Linked DNA regions of Homo sapiens: regions 1, 3, 4, 5 and 6 are each linked to region 2. The links are contacts of gene promoters, found by promoter capture Hi-C in blood cells and fetal thymus (Javierre and others, 2016). All regions are on one chromosome and are shown on one strand. The core of a region is centred on a gene start or on the middle of the fragment in contact, and the rest is flanking DNA. Distances in the headings are between cores, read along the strand shown. Region 1 overlaps INKILN (inflammatory MKL1 (MRTFA) interacting lncRNA). Region 2 holds the start of PF4V1 (platelet factor 4 variant 1). Region 3 has its middle 24 kb from the start of CXCL2. Region 4 has its middle 17 kb from the start of CXCL5. Region 5 has its middle 16 kb from the start of CXCL3. Region 6 overlaps CXCL3 (C-X-C motif chemokine ligand 3).

The links. Contacts are between HindIII fragments. The CHiCAGO score rates a contact against its expected background, and 5 or more counts as called.
Region 1: a contact is called between a fragment that was not itself captured here and the fragment with the promoter of PF4V1 in region 2, in 2 of 17 cell types (neutrophils and monocytes). The highest score is 17.7, in neutrophils.
Region 3: a fragment that was not itself captured here is called in contact with the fragment with the promoter of PF4V1 in region 2 in 4 of 17 cell types (neutrophils, M1 macrophages, monocytes and 1 more); the score reaches 14.0 in neutrophils.
Region 4: a contact is called between a fragment that was not itself captured here and the fragment with the promoter of PF4V1 in region 2, in 4 of 17 cell types (neutrophils, M1 macrophages, M0 macrophages and 1 more). The highest score is 12.6, in neutrophils.
Region 5: a contact is called between a fragment that was not itself captured here and the fragment with the promoter of PF4V1 in region 2, in 3 of 17 cell types (neutrophils, megakaryocytes and monocytes). The highest score is 7.9, in neutrophils.
Region 6: a fragment that was not itself captured here is called in contact with the fragment with the promoter of PF4V1 in region 2 in 3 of 17 cell types (neutrophils, megakaryocytes and M1 macrophages); the score reaches 12.1 in neutrophils.

What each region holds. Positions count from the first base shown.
Region 1 is chr4:73,700,500-73,703,923 of GRCh38, reverse strand. It overlaps INKILN (inflammatory MKL1 (MRTFA) interacting lncRNA), which reads left to right. Exons shown (of 3, transcript NR_185098.1): 3 at 3,369-3,424. Among named protein-coding and RNA genes, the nearest start is that of UMLILO, 8.1 kb to the left of the region's middle. The HindIII fragment of the contact is 8,798 bases long and covers 1-3,424 here.
Region 2 is chr4:73,851,916-73,855,162 of GRCh38, reverse strand. It overlaps PF4V1 (platelet factor 4 variant 1), which reads right to left and starts at 1,867. Exons shown (of 3, transcript NM_002620.4): 1 at 1,701-1,867; 2 at 1,254-1,380; 3 at 680-1,128. The coding sequence starts at 1,800. The coding sequence ends at 1,041. The HindIII fragment of the contact is 5,836 bases long and covers 1-3,247 here.
Region 3 is chr4:74,073,881-74,077,315 of GRCh38, reverse strand. No RefSeq gene overlaps it. Among named protein-coding and RNA genes, the nearest start is that of CXCL2, 24 kb to the left of the region's middle. The HindIII fragment of the contact is 3,206 bases long and covers 150-3,355 here.
Region 4 is chr4:74,014,559-74,017,601 of GRCh38, reverse strand. No RefSeq gene overlaps it. Among named protein-coding and RNA genes, the nearest start is that of CXCL5, 17 kb to the right of the region's middle. The HindIII fragment of the contact is 4,022 bases long and covers 1-3,043 here.
Region 5 is chr4:74,052,993-74,056,036 of GRCh38, reverse strand. It overlaps the pseudogene PPBPP2. Among named protein-coding and RNA genes, the nearest start is that of CXCL3, 16 kb to the right of the region's middle. The HindIII fragment of the contact is 500 bases long and covers 1,014-1,513 here.
Region 6 is chr4:74,033,734-74,036,941 of GRCh38, reverse strand. CXCL3 (C-X-C motif chemokine ligand 3) reads left to right here. Exons shown (of 4, transcript NM_002090.3): 4 at 1-353. Among named protein-coding and RNA genes, the nearest start is that of CXCL3, 3.4 kb to the left of the region's middle. The HindIII fragment of the contact is 1,374 bases long and covers 1,158-2,531 here.

The sequences.
Region 1 (3,424 bases), core at 192-2,691, 150 kb after region 2:
CTGGATTCAAAGCACGACACTATAAAAGCTGTGAGAAGAAAAAAATATAAATTTAAAGAAAACTTTTTTTCAGAAAGATAATTAAATTCAATGTAACAATAATAACTACTCGTTTTCAAAACTCAGCTCTTCAACTATTTCTCCTAGAATTTTTTTCCAAAACTCTTACTTCAAGTCTAACACTCCTTCATCTCAGTTTTCTCTTTCATGATTATGTATTTTAACTCATAGGTATACTCTTTAAGACAGGGGCTATCCCTGAGACCTATCCCACATCCTGAGAAGGGCTTGGCACTCTCCTTGTCAGATAGCCTGTTGCCTCCTCAGCCACACTGTGAGCTCCTTGATAGAAAGAATTGTGCTATCTGTGGCTTTCAGAGCCCTATTCAGATACTTGATGCTTAACATGTGCTTGTAGAGTCGGTAAACTGAATGTATGTGGAGCCTCCAGAACTGTGTTCCCATTGAGGATGACAGGGAACAGATCAATCCTTGTCCTACATGGCCTAAATCTTAGTTTGACAAATATCTGGAAAGAATTACAAAAATATAAGGTAGGAATGACTTGGGAGTCCAGGGTGGTGTCTGAACCCTAGTCACTGCCTTGGGCACACATTTCTCATACTGTTGCAATATCACAGTTGTTGACTTTCAGTTCACTCAGTTGGTCAACTCCCTAAAGTTGGTTAAGGACCCTCATACCCCTCATCCTACTCTTTTCTTCTACCCCAAACCCCCTTTGCTCAGGACTTCCAGTGGTTCCCTCCTTTTAACCTCAGTATTAGCCCTTTATCCCCAACTCTTTGCCTGCCAAATGACATAGGAGCAAAGGATGAGAGGGAGCTGTCCTGGAGGGAAGTAGTACCTGCAAGGTAATCAGACCTTTCATACTACTCAGATCTTGTGGCCATCTCATGTGTGATTATGTTACAAGGATGTTTGTTTTCCTTATGATTTCATGCTATATGAACTCAATCTCAGGAAGAAAAAGAAAGAATTTTCAAGGCTCATCCTGCTACTGATGAGTTTTGTTTTAGAATGTTGCCTCCGAGATGCCTAACGCCATGCAGGAGAGAAAGCTAGGCAGGCAAATTAAAACATGGGCCTCAAAGCTCCCCTGGGAGATGGGAAGTTCAGCTCTCTGTGGCTCCATAGTGAAAAGAGATCAGAAGCAACACCTCTCTGGATCACCAGGACTTCAGAGTTGCTTGCTCATAACCAGACAACTTGTGAAGGCTTCTGCAAAATTTTATGGTGAAGGCTGAAGAGAAAAGAAGTAAAACCCTCTCTAACACTTATACACAGAGCCCTGTGACCCTGACCCTTAGCATATCTTTCACAGGGTTCTCTACTGCAGTCATCTCACCTCTCACCATGGATTTCTCTATTCCAATTTTTTAATTGTAAGATATGTCACATTCACAAAAAAAAGTGAAAAGAACACATATCTGGCTGGGTGCAATGGCTCACACCTGTAATCCCAGCACTTTGGGAGGCCGAGGCAGGTGGATCATCTGAGGTCAGGAGTTCAAGACCAGCCTGGCCAACATGGTGAAACCCCATCTCTATTAACAATACAAAAATTAACCGGACATGGTGGCACATGCCTGTAAATCCCAGCTACTTGGGAGGCTGAGGCAGGAGAATCGCTTGAACTCGGGAGGTGGAGGTTGCAGTAAGCAGAGACCTCTCCATTACACTCTAGCCTGGGCAACAAGAGCAAGACTCCATCTCAAAAAAAAAAAAAAAGAAAAAGAAAGAAAGAAAAGAACACATACCTATAGTTTAAAACCATTATTATAAATGTTAAACACAAATAAATGGTAAATGTTCATATGTGTAACCACCATTCAGATGAAGAAATAACACATTACCAACATTCTCAGAACCCTCTCCCCTATTTCACCTCTTCCTGTTCCCTTTGAGTAATCACCTCCTGATTTTTTCCATAGTCATTCCTTTGCCTTTCTTTATATCTTTACTATCTGTGTATGCATTTCTAAACAATCCAACTTATGTTGCCTGCTTTTGTGCTTCACGTAAGTGAAATCATACTTTTTGTATTTTTTTGTGCCTTGCTTCATTTGCTCCACAATGTGTTTGTGTAATTCATCCATGACATTCCATGCAGCCATAAGTGGTTTATTTTATTTGCCATTAGGGATTAAGAGCAGAGACTCTAGAGCCAGACTTCTCAGGTTTAAATCTCAGCTCTTTTCTCGTTCAGATGTATAACCTTGTGCAAATTATTTCCATCTTTCTGTACTTTAGTTTTAATTTACCTGGAGCTGATTGTGGGGTATGGTGTAAGTTAGGGGTCTTAGGTAGACCTCCCTGGGAAGATCTCTGAGATGGTGATTTGTAAACATGTGGTTTATTGGACCATGAGCATGGGAACTGTACCTGAAAAAAGGTGAGGAAGGCAGATTTGGGCAGAGGAGAAACGAATGGTGAAGCATATGCAGTGGAGGCCTTGGCAGGTCCCATAATAGCTTTCAGCTTGTCTCAAATTGATAGAATTTGTATCCCCACATCAGCTAGTCTCGATGTGAGCTGCCTTCAGGGAGGGACCACAGCCTTCAGCAAGGCAGCTCCTTTAGGCCAAGGGCAATTCCTGAGGAGTGATTCAGCTGCGACCTGTCAACCAGCAATATTGCAGCTGGAACAATTAGTGTCATCACTCTGAAGGGGAGAACTGGGAAGGGCACCACGGCATACAATACAGGGTCCAGTTTGATTTTTTCCCATACAGGTACTCAATTGTCCCAGCACCTTTTTCCACGTTATATGATGCTACCTCTTTCATATCAAGTGTTCATACAGTAGTCTATTTCTGAGGTTATTAAAAGTTATGTTTCCAGCCGGGCGTGGTGGCTCACACCTGTAATCCCATTACTTTGGGAGGCCAAGGCGGGTGGATCACGAGGTCAGGAGATGGAGACCATCCTAGCTAACATGGTGAAACCCCGTCTCTACTAAAAATACAAAAAAATTAGCCAGACGTTGTGGTGGCCCCCGTAGTTCCAGCTACTCGGGAGGCTGAGGCAGGAGAATGGCGTGAACCCGGGAGGCGGAGCTTGCAGTGAGCTGAGATCGCGCCACTGCACTCCAGCCTGGGTGACAGAGTAAGACTCTGTCTCGAAAAAAAAAAAATATATATATATATATATATGTTTCCTCGGTCAATTATCTGATTAAAACAAATTGATATCAACATATATATAGAAAATTACCCAATGGAACTAAGAACAAAGAAAGAGGACTTGACATATTAAATATCAAGAGTTGCTGTAATGATCTCTTTTTTTCACAATCTCTTTCCTTCCTTTTCTTCCACATGAAATGTCCTCAACTGTCTTGTCCACCAGGGATGCAGAGTTTACTGTGCATTCTTCAAGACTAAGCTGAAACATGATTTCCCCTC
Region 2 (3,247 bases), core at 618-3,117:
TTCTACTCTCTGGACACTATGAATGTGTTGCTTAACATGGCAAAAAAAAAAAAAAAATATATATATATATATATATATATATATATATATATATATATATATATATCTTTGCAGATGTATTAGAGAACTTGAGTTGGAAAGCGTTTCTGAATTATCCAAGTGAGCCCAATGTATTCACACGCCTCCTTATGAGAGGTAAGCCGGATATAAAAGGTAGAAGAGTCAGCAGAGACAGAGGAGAAGTAGAGGTTGGTGTGATGCAGGTTGAAGACTGGAGAAAGGGCTATGAGGCAAGGAATGCTGGTGAAAAAGGAGAGGAAGTAGATTCTCTTCTAGAGCCTTCAGAAGGAATACAGCTCTGAGGACAGCTTGAGTTTAACCTTTAAGACTTACTTTGGACTTGAGACCCCTAGAATTACAAGACGATAAATTTGTGTTGGTTAAGCCACTGAGTTTGTGGTAATTTCTTACAGAAGCAACAGGAAACTAATATGCCCACATTATAACACCTTCATTTCTCCCCAGTGTAGAGCAATGTCTTCCTAAAGGATGAATGAAAATATTACCTCACACTTCTCTTAGTTCCCAGAATCTTAATATCACCAATGTTAAGGAATTTGTGGGGATAAAAGCAGAGTGTTGCTTATTTACTTCATTGAAAAAAAAAAAAGCTGTCGAGTAATGCTTAAGAGCTACTAATATTTATTGGCAAGCTAATTGTAACATTCAAGGTAAATATGTAGCTATAAAGTACTGCAATCACATAAATGAACAAATATGTATCAGCTAACATATAACACTGAACAAAATCAGTCTTTATTAAACCAAGCCTTCCTTCATAATGCTTTTTGCTTAAAATTCTGGAAATTTTAAAATATGAAATTGTGATGTGTCAGCATTATTTTTGCAGTATTATTAAGAAATAGATTGACTATACCACAACTTGATTTATTTCGTTAATATAATATAAGAAGGATAATACAAACATCAGAAGATTCTTTCACAGTTAGATTGAAAGTGCACACTTAGGCAGCTAGTAGCTAACTCTCCAAATGTTCCTTAATGATTTTCTTGTACAGCAGGGCTTGCAGATCCAAGCAAATTTTCCTCCCATTCTTCAGCGTGGCTCTGGCAGGGAAAAGAGAAGAGACGTGACTTTCAGTCCTTGGGTTTGCAAATGGCATTAGAAGGGGGAGGGATGGGCAGAGGAGGCACGGAGCGGGAGCACTAACTGATGCAGTGCGAGGACTCACATGAGTTGGGCAGTGGGGCAGTGGGGTCCGGCCTTGATCACCTCCAGGCTGGTGATGTGCCTGGGACGGACCTGGGAGGTGGTCTTCACACACAGGCACTGCAGGTCCCCATCTTCTTCAGCTTCAGCTGAGGGGGAAAGGGAGGGAGTAAGAGAGGAGGAGGGGTGGGAGTTGTGACTCCCTGAGTAGCCAGAGATACTTTAGGGACCTTTTCCACTACCTTCAGCTTTCTTTTCCTTAGCCGTAAATCAGACCTCTCTCAGACAGAGGTTGTGCTGATCAGGTGGCGAGGTGCACGTGCAGTGCCTGGCACTGTACCCGCAGACTCAGCACGCGCGCAATAAGAGCAGCTGCGATCATGATCCTAGAGGATTCCTCCCCAGCCCCAGGGCTTCCCGGACTCCCCCTCGCCGCTGCTGGCCCTCCCAGCCTGGTTTCTGCTCTCACCTCTGGCGAAGGCGACCACAACTGGCAGGAGCAGCAACGCCAAGAACAGCATCTCCTGGCGGGTGGCGCGGGTGAGGCGGGACCTGGCTGCGGAGCTCATGTTGCAGCTGAGGTTCCAGCAGGATCCCAGTGCGCAGGGAAAGTCGGGCTGGGGTTCTGCAGGCAGTGACTCCTGGCCTCACCAGGCTTCTTTTATCCCCCGTCACTGTCCCACTGTCCTTCCAGTCCGGAAGCCTGGGGTGGACAGCGAGGAACTGTGGTGCAGGAGCTAAGACACTGCTATGAAGACTCAGACTCTGGCCAGCCAAGATTACAAAACAAAAGGCTGGGGGCAGCTGCCTTGGCTAGGAGGTGGTACAAAGATGCATACCTCCAACCTCAGTTTATATACACTTACATTTGTGGAGTTAGAAACACTACTTGCATCTTAGAAGAGAAATATTTTCTGTGTTGTATCATAGTAGAGTTCTCTGTAGTCACCAAGCAACTTACACAGCAGGTGGCTTCAGGACCCAGACAGTTCTTGTTTCCTTCTCAACTCAAGAACTGCCCATATGCTCCTAACTTCAGTCTTGATTACCATTGAGTTTGATGGCTGTGTGTTTGAAGAGTGTGCTATTTGCAATTGTTTTCTAATACTAATAAGTTTAATTTGGTCTCTAGGTGATGACTCTTCTGAATTTCACCTGAATGTGGAAAACTTCCCTAGTCTCTGGATGAGATTTACCAGGCTCCACCAACAATCACCCAGTATACTGTAGGATGCAAGATCTATTTCCCGTTACTCTTAGAAAAATTGCAGAAGTAATATTTGAATGCATTATTTTTATAAAAACTTAGCTCCTGGATGTTTCTTCATTGTTTCAATCCTGAATAATAGTCCAGAAGAGAGGACAAGGAGAGTTTGCCAGGCCATGTCTTCCAGAGCCTGCTGTGTCCTCAGTCACTGCCAGTGACAGGGTGAGATGGGCTGCACTGTTGGCAGGGAGCAGTGATGCTCTCTGTGGGAGGATTCAGGGCATCTGGGAGTTGGGTGTGAGAATGATGGGAGGTGACAGTGAAGGGGATGCAACAGAATCCCACACGGGAAAGGGGAAGAGATCCATATCGACCGTTTTCTCTTCTCTAAAAAAGAATGACTTTGGCTCTTGATCAGGGCAAGGTACACCCTCAACCCAAAGCCCAAGGTTCCCTGTCACTCTGACTAACAGTGGTGAAGGGTGTCAGGGACCCACTGGATGGAACTAGCTGATATTCTAATGCTCAGCAAACCTGCATTTTTGTAGGAATATGCAATTCTTTCTCCTACTCTCCCTACACCTGCCTATTCAGCTGGCTAAGACCTATTCATATTTCTGGTGTCAGCTTAAATATCACTTCCTCAGGTGTGCCTTCCCTGACAGCTATATATAATTGTGTTCCCTTGTTGTTCTATCTTGCAGAACTCTGTTCTTCGTATTTCTCACAGAATACACAAACATACACACACATATATTGTAGATATATATATATATATGTGTGTGTATGTGTATCTGTGTATTTAAAAG
Region 3 (3,435 bases), core at 503-3,002, 220 kb before region 2:
GGTAGCACTAGAAAACTAGTTCAAATATTTGACTGTTTGATTTGTTAATGCCAAAAAAATTGTACTCACTATGGAATAATTAAGTTCATTTATGAAACTGTTTAAAAAATAAAATCAAAGCTCATAGTTCACTGTTAGTTAATTAAGCTTGAAGCCCATGGAAACTGCTATCTTCAAACAATAAGTAAATTGTAGTTTGCAAGTCTTGACAGGAAAAAAGTTATACTCTGAACTCAATTTTTTCTGCAGTATATCTAGGCTGTGCATGTAGACTTAGTTTGAAAAATTCTATTAAGACTTTAAATGGAATTACGCAAATAGGTACAAAATTCAAAAGCAAATAATTGCTGAGGAAAAGCATCTTAATTCCCTATTTTGTATGAACATGTCCTTGGTAAAGATGCATAGACATTCTCAAGACTCCATTCTGTAAGTCACCATTAACTGCAACTAAGATTGACTCTTTCACAGTTTCGCAGTTTCATGGCAGGAAATAATAGATTCATTTCTCTATTTAACAAGTTCATCTCATTGTGCCCCAAAAGCCCCAATTAAAACAAAGTTTGAAAAACAAACTCAGCTTCTTTATTGGCTTGTGAGCAAAAAGTATACCACTTGATAAACTTCACCTTTTATTCTTTAGAGGGGACAGAGAATACAAGGAGAGCAATAAAACATTCTCTGGGTTACAGAGAGCACATGCAAGTGGGCTGCAGTATTGATTCCACCATCCAGAACAGGATCAAGATTAAGGACAGACATGGGTACTCAGAACTCACCAGCACTCCTCCTTCTGACTGTCCTTGTCCTCTGCATGTTTGGTAAGCCAACTATGGCTTTTATCTTTTCCTTCTAGGGACTGGAAAAACTCAGAAAGGGTTCCAGATGTAATGAGATTATATTTAACATTAAGCAAAATATAGAAACTGTGAAATTAAAAGGTAAGCAGATCTGTATGGTATTTAGATTGTGGAGTGTCAAAAATTTATTGTTGAGTCAAATAAAAACATGTTTACGGCCAGGCGCGGTGGCTCACGCCTGCAATCCCAGCACTTTGGGAAGCCGAGGTGGGTGGATCACCTGAGGTCAGGATTTCGAGACCAACCTGGCTAACATGGTGAAACCCCGTTTCTACTAAAAATACACAAAATTAGTTGGGCGTTGTGGCGCACGCCTGTAATCCCAGCTACTGGGGTGGCTGAGGCAGGAGAATCGCTTGAACGCGGGAGGCGCAAGTTACGGTGAGCTGAGATCGTGCCATTGCACTCCAGCTTGGGCAACAAGAGAAAAACTCCGTCTAAAAAAAAAAAAAAAAAGATGTTTACCTTCCTAGAAATATCTGGCTGCGCGGCCGGGCGCGGTGGCTCACGCTTGTAATCCCAGCAATTTGGGAGGCCGAGGCGGGTGGATCACCTGAGGTTAGGAGTTTGAGAGCAGCCTGACCAACATGGTGAAACCCCATCTCTACTAAAAATACAAAAATTAGTCAGGCATGGTTGCGCATGCCTGTAATCCCAGCTACTCCGGAGGCTGAGGCAGGAGAATCGCTTGAACCTAGGAGGCGGAGGATGCAGTGAGCCTACATCTCGTCATTGCACTCCAGACTGGGCAACAAGAGGGAAACTCTGTCTCAAAAAAAATAAATAAATAAATAAAAGAAAAAGAAAATAAATATCTGGCTGCAAGAGTTGTGCTTTTCTTGTTATAGGCGATAGTAGGAAGATTACTGAAAGTAGGTTTAGGGTGTTTGCTTTAATGATGGTAGGCAGATAGAAATTGCTACATTCAATTGATAAAATTTACATATAATCTTTATTTTTACAACTTTTCATAGAAAGGATCAAGTTAATTTTTGCCATTAAGAAAGTTATTGACCGTGCATATTAATACTTTTAAGCAATTAATTATTGGTTTAGTATATCTACCAGTTTTTCAAATATAACAGATGCTCAGTAAGTATTTGTTGATCAGGATAATAGCATATAATTAGGTTTGTGTAACCTTCTCCCTCAATATTTCTGAATTTGTAAATCCAGTTGAGTGTCCTGCTACATTGATTTCAAATTTCAAGTAAGTGTTATGGCTACCTTTGTTCTCACTCAGGGCTTTTCTATTCCTTTCTCACACAACTGATTCCTCTGAGAGTCAAGAATTGTGATGTGAGTGTATTCAGATATATTCTGACTTTATTTCTTCCCAATTTATTAAAAATGTTCAGTTGATACCTGAAGGTGCTTTGTACAGCAGAAAATAAATCCTGTAAGTAGCGAAGATGTCGGGGAGTGTGGAAGCCTCTAGGACTGTGATTTTCAAAGCTGGCATTTCTTTACAAAGAATGCCAAGCTGAGAGTGTAGGAAACCTAGCCTCTAGATATGATTCCTGCACAATGTGGGAAAATAATTGCCCAGTATTTTTGCTTCCATTCCTGAAAACATCCTGCACTCTCTCCAAAAAAAAAAAAAAAAAAAAAAAAAAAAAAAAAAAAAGGTGGAGGGGGGCTTTCAAATGGAAACATAGGGGGTGAATTCTTCTGAATGGAGTTAACCTTGTAGTAAGTGAACATGTACAATAAGAAAAGATACACATTCATCAGTAAGAATACATGGATAATTCAATAAATTCAATATGGCCTGATGGCCCTGGAGACAAATTTACTGAGGCATAAGCCTACAAGTATAGAGCTTAGAGACTACAGGAAACAATTCTGCATTTCATTAAACTATTTTTACTGTAAACTATGTAATACAGACTGTTTCAATTGTTCATTGCTAGGTAACAAATTACCACAACGTAGTGGTTTAAAATTAACCCATGTAATATTTCACAGTTTTGTAGATTAGCTGTCTAGGTGACTTGACCAGGTTCTCTGCTTGGCATTTCATAAAGCTAAAATCGAGGTGTCAGTAGGGCCAAGCTCTCATTTGAAGGCTCTAGGGATGAATCCACTCCCAATTCAGATTGTTGGTAGAATTCAGTTCTTTACAGCATAGGACTGGGGTCCTGATATTCTTCCTGGCTGTTGGCTTGGGGTCACTCAGCACTCCCAGAGGCTGCTCTCACTTCCTTCCATGTGGCTCCTTCCATATAAGCAATGAACAACCTGCCTTGCATTGAGCTGAGCTCACCCTTCAAATCTCTCTTACTTCCTCTTCTGCTACCTGCCAGAGAAAACTCTCTGCTTTTAGGGTTCAAGTTATTACATTAGGCTCACTTGAATAATCACTCTTGATTTATTTAGTCTACTCATTAATAACCTTAATTACATCTGCAAAATCTTTTTGCTGTGTAAGATAACGTAATGATGTTTGTAATATCTCATCATATTCACACTCCTAGGGAAGTGGGTGGGAAGCTTGATGGGCTTGTTTTAGGATTCTGCCTGCCACAAATACAAAAGAGAAGACGATTACATATATATAGTTTGGAGAGCAGTA
Region 4 (3,043 bases), core at 219-2,718, 160 kb before region 2:
TCGGGCTACTCTGTCCTCTCTTTATCTTTCTCTGCTTTCCTTTTTTCTATTTTTTCACACAGCATATGAAAAACTTTCAAAGAGAAAGAAAAATCATTTTACTCTTTTGTTAAAAATCCCCCAAATGGCATTTTATGTCACTTAAAGAAAACCGAAAGTTCTCATCACACCCTGTAAGGCACAACCCTCCAATATTACAGTCCCTGACTACTTGTTAATACCGCTCAGCCACATTGCTACTTAAATATACCAAGCAAACTCCTGCCTTGGAATATTTGAACCTGTTTTTCTCTATGCCTGGAATATTTTTTTTCCAGAGCTGCATAATTTTTCCTTTACTTCTTTAAGGGTTTTGCTCAAATATCATTGTGTTAGAGTCTTTCTCAGATCACTCTATATAAAATACATATGTAAACCTATATACATCCACACACACAATCTTTTTTTTCTTATTTGTCAATTGTCAGCTCTAATAAAATAATTACTCATCAAGAGAAAATCTTTGGCTTATAGCTATATCTTCAGTGTCTTTAGCATTGCTGGGTATTAGTAGAAACTCAAAAAAAGTTTTGAGGAATGATTGAATGGTATACAGAGAAAGGAGATGGTGGACGAGCTTGGCACAGAGAACCAGATGGGTGGCAGGATGCTGGAAAGTGCACAGTGGCTTCTCTGACATGTCTGCTTGTCATTGGAAAAAGATCAAATTCCCATCCCTCTTCTTGGTAGGTGAAGCTGTGGACATGCAAAGCCAACCTTAGGAGAAGCAATGAAGAATAGCAGGCAGTGGTTACCTGTATGGGCTCTGCTGTCAGATGGCCTGGTTTTGAATTCCAGCTCCATCAATTTCCTGCGTGACTTCAGCCAAGTCACTCAACCTCTCTTAAACTCTATAATCTTATCCAGAAAAATGGGCAAAAATAGCTGTTGGGAGGATTAGGTAAATATAATTCATAAAACACACTTGGAACAAAGTAGTTGTCATGAAATATTAGTTGTTATTATATATGATAAGGTGCAGTGGGCTAGTGTGGAATTATGAGAGAAAAAGAAAAAAAGAGATTTAGAAAACTCAAGACATTGAGCTTATTCTGCCACAAATGTTTAGATAAGGAAGAGCTTTCTTGTCTGTTAAAATACTTATTTAGAGTAAAGGGCAAGTACAATACCAACAACTATAATCTTTCTAGTGTTGACCTAGCTAGACCTTTATATTTCATGAACAGAGGTAAGATTAATCAGATGAAATGCCAAATGAAAAGAGGAAGACAGTTGAGTAAAACAAAAAGTGTGATTTAGCAGAGGATTTAGTGCGTCAAGTTATACCACATCCTGTTAGTCTTTTATGCCATTATCCAGTGTTGTGTGTCCCAGCAGCATAACAAAGGTTAAGAACAAGTTTATTCAACATCAGCAATGATTGCCAGAGGGAAGCAACTCACTTTAGTCAACATGGCTATCAAATGACAAAGAAAGGCACAAGTGAGAAATCTGTTTACAACCCTGGCATTTGGAGACACAACAGATGAATTATAGCATTTTGTAGATATTGAATTATATTTTTACATTCACTCACAATACTTGGAGTGAAGAGATCAAAAATTCTGTTAGAACAAATTGTAATGCATTTTCTCTCTTGTTTCTATTTTTCCCCACTTCTCCAATATACTTACATACTTTTAATAGGTCGGTAAATCTCCTAAATATTAGCTCACATCCAATCATACTGTTTAGAGAGCTTCTATGATTCATAAACATGCCTGAATGGATTTGGAGCGAATTCACAATTTCAGTATTTACCAAAATGTTAAATACTATGATTTGTATCACAGGTATCAACAGAGCTAAAGTAGCCAGATTAGTAAAACTTCTCTGAGAAATGGCTGATCTCAGTCATGGAAATGCATAATTGGGCATTAATATTGTTTTTACTGGAGATCTCATATTTGGCACTCTAACACCTCATACTGCAAATCAACAGGCAGCTCATTCTTACCTCTGTCATTAAGTATCAGGGGTTTTCCGTAAAACTCAATGTTAGATGCATTGACCAGTAACAAATGAATCTTTAAGTCAGACACTGAAGCAGATCAGTATCATGGTTAAATTTGAAGCAAACATTTCACTGTAAAATTCAAGGTTTACATCATATCTGATATGGGACTCTAGGGAAAGATTTTGCTCAGAAAGAGAAAAGAAGGGTGGAGTGAACACCTTGGAAAGGCTCCCTCTAAGTATGTACATCCACAGAGAAAAAGGCCTAACCTCACTTCCTGTTATGGATGTCAACTGTGGTGTAAACCAAAGAACTATCAAGCAATCAGCTAGGGCTCTAGTAGGATGAAGTCCCGTCCCAGACTTGCAGCTGAGAGGATTCACTCCCCGGATAGGCCTTTTGGTGATAAAAAGAGGAGAAAGAATGAAATGAATGAGGTTTCTTTGAGAATAAATGAGGAGGACAAGCCTCTGGGGCTGTTCAATCCTAAACACAAGGGAGTGTTGACCTAGACACTGAGGCAAGGAATGGTGATGAAAGGGCAGGATGGAGGCAAGGACGAAACACACTACCGCAGCAGGTGATCTCCAGGTGGTGCATTCCTGGGTTCCGATGAATCAGACATAACTGGGGGAACTTGGTTTCAACCACCTGGAAACTAAGGCATTAGAAAACAATGAGAATATAAATTCATGTGTCATTTCTAGGAAATAACTGACTTTTTAACTTAATAACATGTCACATACCAAATGTCCACCTAGCTTCTTACAGTCTCTAAAATGTGCTAGGTTTAAGATTTTGTGTATTTTGGGCTCATAATGATATTTTAGGCACAGAGGAGGAGAGAAGAGCCAAACATATCTCCATCTCAGACATCACTATTCCCAGATAGAATCAGTGGTGGCAATCCTTCCCATGACTGTCAAATGTGAACTAAGGTGTTTTACAAACTAAGAAGACTAAAGGGTCCATATTGGTCCCTCCTGTATCAGCTGGCCTTGACAATACCTCTTACAGATATGGGACAACTGTTACATCACCTTTCTT
Region 5 (3,044 bases), core at 14-2,513, 200 kb before region 2:
AGGCATAAATAATTTTAGAAAAGTTTATTGAAAGCCAAATGGGAAGACAGACCTGGAAAGACACATCAACAAAGTTGGGGGTGTTCTAGAGTCTTTCATAAGCTAAAAGGGCTTTATGGGAAAGTTTAGAAGAAGAGAGGAAGGCTCCTCATACCAGAGTTGTCCTCTTTTTCATCGGAGGATAAAATAAAGGAGTTACAATCATTAGATTACTACATACAGGCTAAATGTCTACGTGCAAAACAATCAGAAAACTTCTTGTTTCAGTGTAACTTAGAAATAAATCATGGTCCTATTCAGTGTCATCAGGTTCTACATTAATCAGTACGTCAACAATCTGAGGAACTCATAATAAAATGCTTTACTCAGAGATAGAATGTCAACATCAAGTCACCAAACCTTTCCAAGGTGGGTTAATTTGGAAGTCTGCTTACTTATAATGTAAACTGTAAAATGTGACCTGTAGGTTATCACACTTAAAAACAGTTCCAAATAACTTCAGTAGGCATAGTGAATAATTGTTCAACAATAAGAAAAATTGGCTTGAAAACTAAAAAAAAAAAAAAAAACAAAAGAGAGAATGAGTTTTGTTTGTAGTTTCTTGATAAAATTATAAAATTTATTTCTAAGGCAGAAAGAATTCAGTAAGCTAAAATCCAAAGTAAGCCTCTGATGATAATTGGCTCTTATTTTATCCATACGGTCCCAAAGAACATCTGCTGTCTTTGGCGCAGGGCCATATATTTGTGGTTTCAGGTGCCCCTAAAGTGTCTATAGGAGCCTATAAACAAAGCCTATAAACTGTGTTGTAGGAAAGACAGCACATATTGTTACAGGCTCATACAAAGAAAATATATGTAGTGTTTCAGTCTAGTTCTTACCTTCCTAAGTAGAGTCCTTACACATGTGTAAGGGAGATAGGTATTGAGAAAGGGAGAGTGGGAATGTGAAGTGATGCATAACATGCAACTTAGTAGGAATTTTGACCTGTGTTGGGCACAGCTTGACAAGCTTGTGTGTGTGTATCACCACATACCCTCACTTCCCCCTTCCCTACCTCTTTCTCCTTACTGACTTCAAGGGAGAGCATATAAATGACATCAAGGGGTATGAAAAGCCACTTAACTGCAGACTTGTAGGCAGCAACTCACCCTCAAGAGGAAGTCTTCAGGCTCTAGAAACATCTTTAACTTCGGCTTCTGCACCATAAGCCTCAGACTCAATGCCACCCTGCAGCTGTGCCAGATCACTTTGTGCCCTGCAGGTGCTGCTGTTGACTGTTCTGGGTTCCTCCACCAATGGACAAACTAAGAGAAACATAGGGAAAAGGAAATGTAGAGATCTGTTCCTTGCACCTGTTGCTGCTTCTGCTATACCTGTATCTGGGAGAAAGACTGGCTTGGTGCTCCTGGGGCTGGAGAGTGCCATTATAACAACAAATCCAAGTGGAGGGGTCACAGAGAGGGGGCACTTCACATTTGCTGGGCATTCTGCTGGGCACTTTACTAAAGCTTTACAGATCATATTCACAATGGCTTTATGAGAGAGGTACAATTACCTTCAATTTACAATTGAGAGAACTGAGAAAAATATTCACGACCACTAATAGATCACTTTTTACCCCAGCTGTAAGTGTAGACAGTGACTTGTACACTGAACTGCGCTGCGTGTATGTGAAGTCAACCTTTGTACTTCATCCCAGAAACATCCACAATTTGGAGTTGGTCTCAGCAGGACCCCATTGCAGCAAAGACGAAGTAATGTAAGCCACTGCTTCTGTGCTATCGCCTCATCAGGGAAGCCCTCTACCTCCATCCCCATCTGCATTCATTTCCTCCAGTCTCACAGATCCTTTCTGATATTCAGGCCAGGACACCCACAGATAATTCTATTCTCTCTTGCAGAGCCACTCTGTAAGATGGGAGAAAAAATCTGCCTGGACCCAGATGCTCCCAGAATCAATAAAATTGTACAGAAAATGTTGAAAGTTGATGAATTCATCTGGTTAATTTGTTAACTTTCTGCTAACGCTTTTCACTGGAAGGGGAGGATTTTGAAGTCTTGACTTTCTCAGATTCTTATTTATCCAGGATACTTATTCTTACTGTATTAAAATTTTGATCTAAGTTCTATTCTGTTTCAAAAATCTCATTTTATTCTGAGAATGCTGGATAAAAGATAACAGAAAGAAGGTGAAAATAAGCAAGCCATGCTTCAATATATAATATATGTTTTACCCCCAATCCTTGGCTAAACATTGTAGTGCACTTTCCCTTTATTTATTTGAAAATTTCTATTGAAACACATCTTTGTTGATTTTTCCAACCCCACTCTACTGTAAGACTAGACATGCTGATGATAATAAACAGATTTAATAATGGTTAATGATATTAGGAATCACACAGAGCCCAGCGCAAAATACTTGCTCAATAAATTTTTGTTAGTATGTTCAGGAACTTAATAGGGTCTTTTAGTGTCTTAGTGCTATTATGTCTTGCTTAAAACATCTTCTGAAAGTTTCTTCTGATGTTTGTTTTAGCCTTCAAACCCTAAAAATAATAAAGTTGTAGAATGTAAGTCTTGTGAACTCTGCTTTTTTACTTTAAAGTGTATATATTTACCCCTGGTAGAATAAAAAATAGATGATGGAAATGAATTAATGTATCCCATTAAAAAACCTGTGATATTTTTTGAAACAAGAAAGAAAGAAAGGAAAAAAAATTCTTGAGGTTAAATGTTTTACCCTGACATGTTTGTATATATTAGCATTTAGTTAACATCTACATGGTTACAATTCTAGCATTAGTATTGACCTTGTAAGTAAGTACAATGTAGAACTTAACCTTTACTAGACTACTAATTCTTTTTTTAATCAACAAAATTTCCATTCATTTCTTAACCCCTAAAATTTATACCTACAAAATTTTCATTAACAAAATTAATTTTGTTACTACAAAAGTATTAACATAAGAATAACAATTTCTATTTATTTGTTGTTATATATTATTAATTTGAACATAATTGCTGTGGATAAAAGCTTTACT
Region 6 (3,208 bases), core at 595-3,094, 180 kb before region 2:
ATGTGTCAGCCACCTTGATAAATGACAGGGTGGGGAACTGGAGGGTGGGGGGATTGAAATGCAAGCAATTAGTGGATCACTGTTAGGGTAAGGGAATGTATGTACACATCTATTTTTTATACTTTTTTTTTAAAAAAAGAATGTCAGTTGTTATTTATTCAAATTATCTCACATTATGTGTTCAACATTTTTATGCTGAAGTTTCCCTTAGACATTTTATGTCTTGCTTGTAGGGCATAATGCCTTGTTTAATGTCCATTCTGCAGCGTTTCTCTTTCCCTTGGAAAAGAGAATTTATCATTACTGTTACATTTGTACAAATGACATGATAATAAAAGTTTTATGAAAAAAAAGGCTTATGTGGTTTTTCAAAAAATTCTTCTTGACTTTTAGTTCTTCCCAGGCACCCAAGGTGTTATACAGTTAGGCTGCAGGTTCTATCTAAATCTGTGCCTGCTTCTAGCTGTCACTTCCCTTATATTTCTCTTATTCAAAACGGACTATCCGATGCTTTTAGAAAGTACATACTACCCCCCAACCACTTTGATAATTCTAATTTTGTATAACATTTAGCTGTTTTTCACATTGACCAATTTGTTATTCAAAACTAGTTCTTTACAAATTTTTGAATGTTATTGATATTTTAACATGGGCGTCTGCTAGATCTGCTAGATGCTTTTGGTAAACGGTTTCTCAAATACTTATGCAATTCTTTCCCGTTTAACAAGGTTGGGAGCAAAAGGTAGAAAAGTTGATTCTGCCTTAGAACTAAAAAGAATTGTGATATTAAAAAAAATGACCTATTGAGATACTGTAATGTAAAATATATGACAAAAATAGCACAAAAGACAGGTTGGGAGATAAGTGGGTTTAGACTATAACATATCTCTTCAATTGTTAGAGAAAGTATTAAGAAAAAAATTGTAGCAAGAACAAATGTTGTAATTTGTAGGGCAACAACTAAAAGGAAAATGCAAAATTTTGGACTTAATCTAAAAAGGACATAAAATAGTGTAATAGAAAATACCCGACTAATACAAAAGAAGACAGAAATGGAGGAATAAACCAACACATGGATCAAAGGCAGAAGAGACACATCTTTACAGAAGAATTGCTGATAATATGAGTATAGTCTCCTCCTTCCCGAAGGTGAAGCTTAATTCCCCTCTCCAGGTGCGTGTAGCTAGACTTAGTGACTGGCTTCCAAAGAAAAGACTAAGAAAAAGGAAAAAAAAATTACAGTGGAGAAATTTGGCAGACAATCTTAACCAAGTGATCAAGGTTACTGTCACCAATTATGGCATGTGAATATTACGCACCCCCTCATATAATGTGATGGAAGGACACTTCCACTCCATTTATATTCTTCCAGAAAATGCATAACCTTTGTATAATCACAACAAGGACATCATAAAAATCTGAACTGATTTTTATGGTGGTAAAACTGATGGACGTTTTACAAAACTCCTCATAAGTACTCTTCAACCTGTCAAGGTCATGAAAAACAAGACAAAATCAATAAATTGTCACAGATTAAAGGAGACAAAAGTGATATGGGGACTAAATACAATGTGGTATGTTGAATTGGATCCTGGAATAGAAAAAAGGACATTATTGGAAAATTGATGAAATCTGAATAAAGACAAGAGTTTAGTTAACAGCAATGTACCAATGTTAATTTCTTAGTTTTGTCAAATATACTACAAGTATGTAAGATGTCAACATTACGGGACACTGAGCTAAAGGTCAGATATAGAAACTCTCTGTGCCCACACAAATTTTTTGTGAGTCTAAAATTATTCCAAATTTAAAAGTTTATTTTTCAAAAGATAGGACAAATATAATAGCAGATAGTAGACTTAGATACAACTATATTAAGAATTATAGTAAATTTAAGCAGAATAAACACTCCAATTAAAAGTCAAAGATTATCAGACTACATAAATATGACATGTTTATGCTTCTTAAAAGAGACACACTTTAAATTATATCTAGATAGGAGGAACAAATTCTAGTGTTTTATACCACTGTAGGATGCCTATAGTTAAAAGTAATAGTTTCAAACAGCTAGAAGGATATCAAATGTTCCCACACAAATAAATGATAAATATTTGAAATGACGGATATGCTAATTACCCTGATCTCTTCACTATACATTATATATAGAAACATTACTATGTACCCCATCAATATGCACAGTAATTATGTGTCAATTATAAAAATACAATAAAAGTAAAAACAAATTGGGCACCAGGTTGCTTGAAATTAAAAGAATTAATAGTGTTATATCACATACAAATGGGCTGACATGGATATATTACTATATTGAAACCTGACCTGGATATATTAATATATTTATTACTTAACTATTAATATGCTATTCATATAAATTATATTTATTAAAAATTGATATACTAATGAAGGCCTAATTAATATATTATGCCTTAAGGAAAGAAATAGTCTTGGAGATAAAAAAGACTGTTAAAAATAAAAAGGGGTTAACTAAACAAGAGACAAAACATTCCTAAGCTTTTATGAACTTAGAAACACATTATCAAATTATATAAACTATTTGTGAGGCTGAGGTGGGAGAATCAACTGAGCCCATGAGTCTGAAGCTGCAGTGAGCTATGATCATGCCACCGCACTGCAGCCTGGGTGACAGAGCAAGGCCTTGTCTCTAAAGAAAAAAAAAATTCACACACACACATAAAGCAAAATGAAGAGATCAAAAAAGAGCAATAGACAGATATATAATCATAGTTACAGATTCTAACAAACTCTTTCAACACTTAATATGTAAAGCAGCACAAATTTAGTAGCAGTATAGAAGTGTTAAGCAACATAAGCAACCAACTTGGTTTGACTGACATATATTGGCAATTTACCCAGCAATTGCATAAATCACATTTGTCTTTCCAAAGAGAACATAGATGAGTCATAAAAAATGTATCAATACATTTCAAAATGTTAAAACATTACAGAAGACCTTTTCTGATCATCAAAGTTTTTTAGGATGATTTGTAACTGTCTTAGTTGAACTATGTATTCATACACTGTGTGTGATATGTTTGCTGTGGTTTATAACTCATCTCAACTTCCTACATTGTGCTTCCATAATACCAGAGTCATCATGATGACCAATATAATCATCTAGTATGATAAAAATGTTTCCATAGAGATGTTTGCTTATTTCCTGTATTTTTTC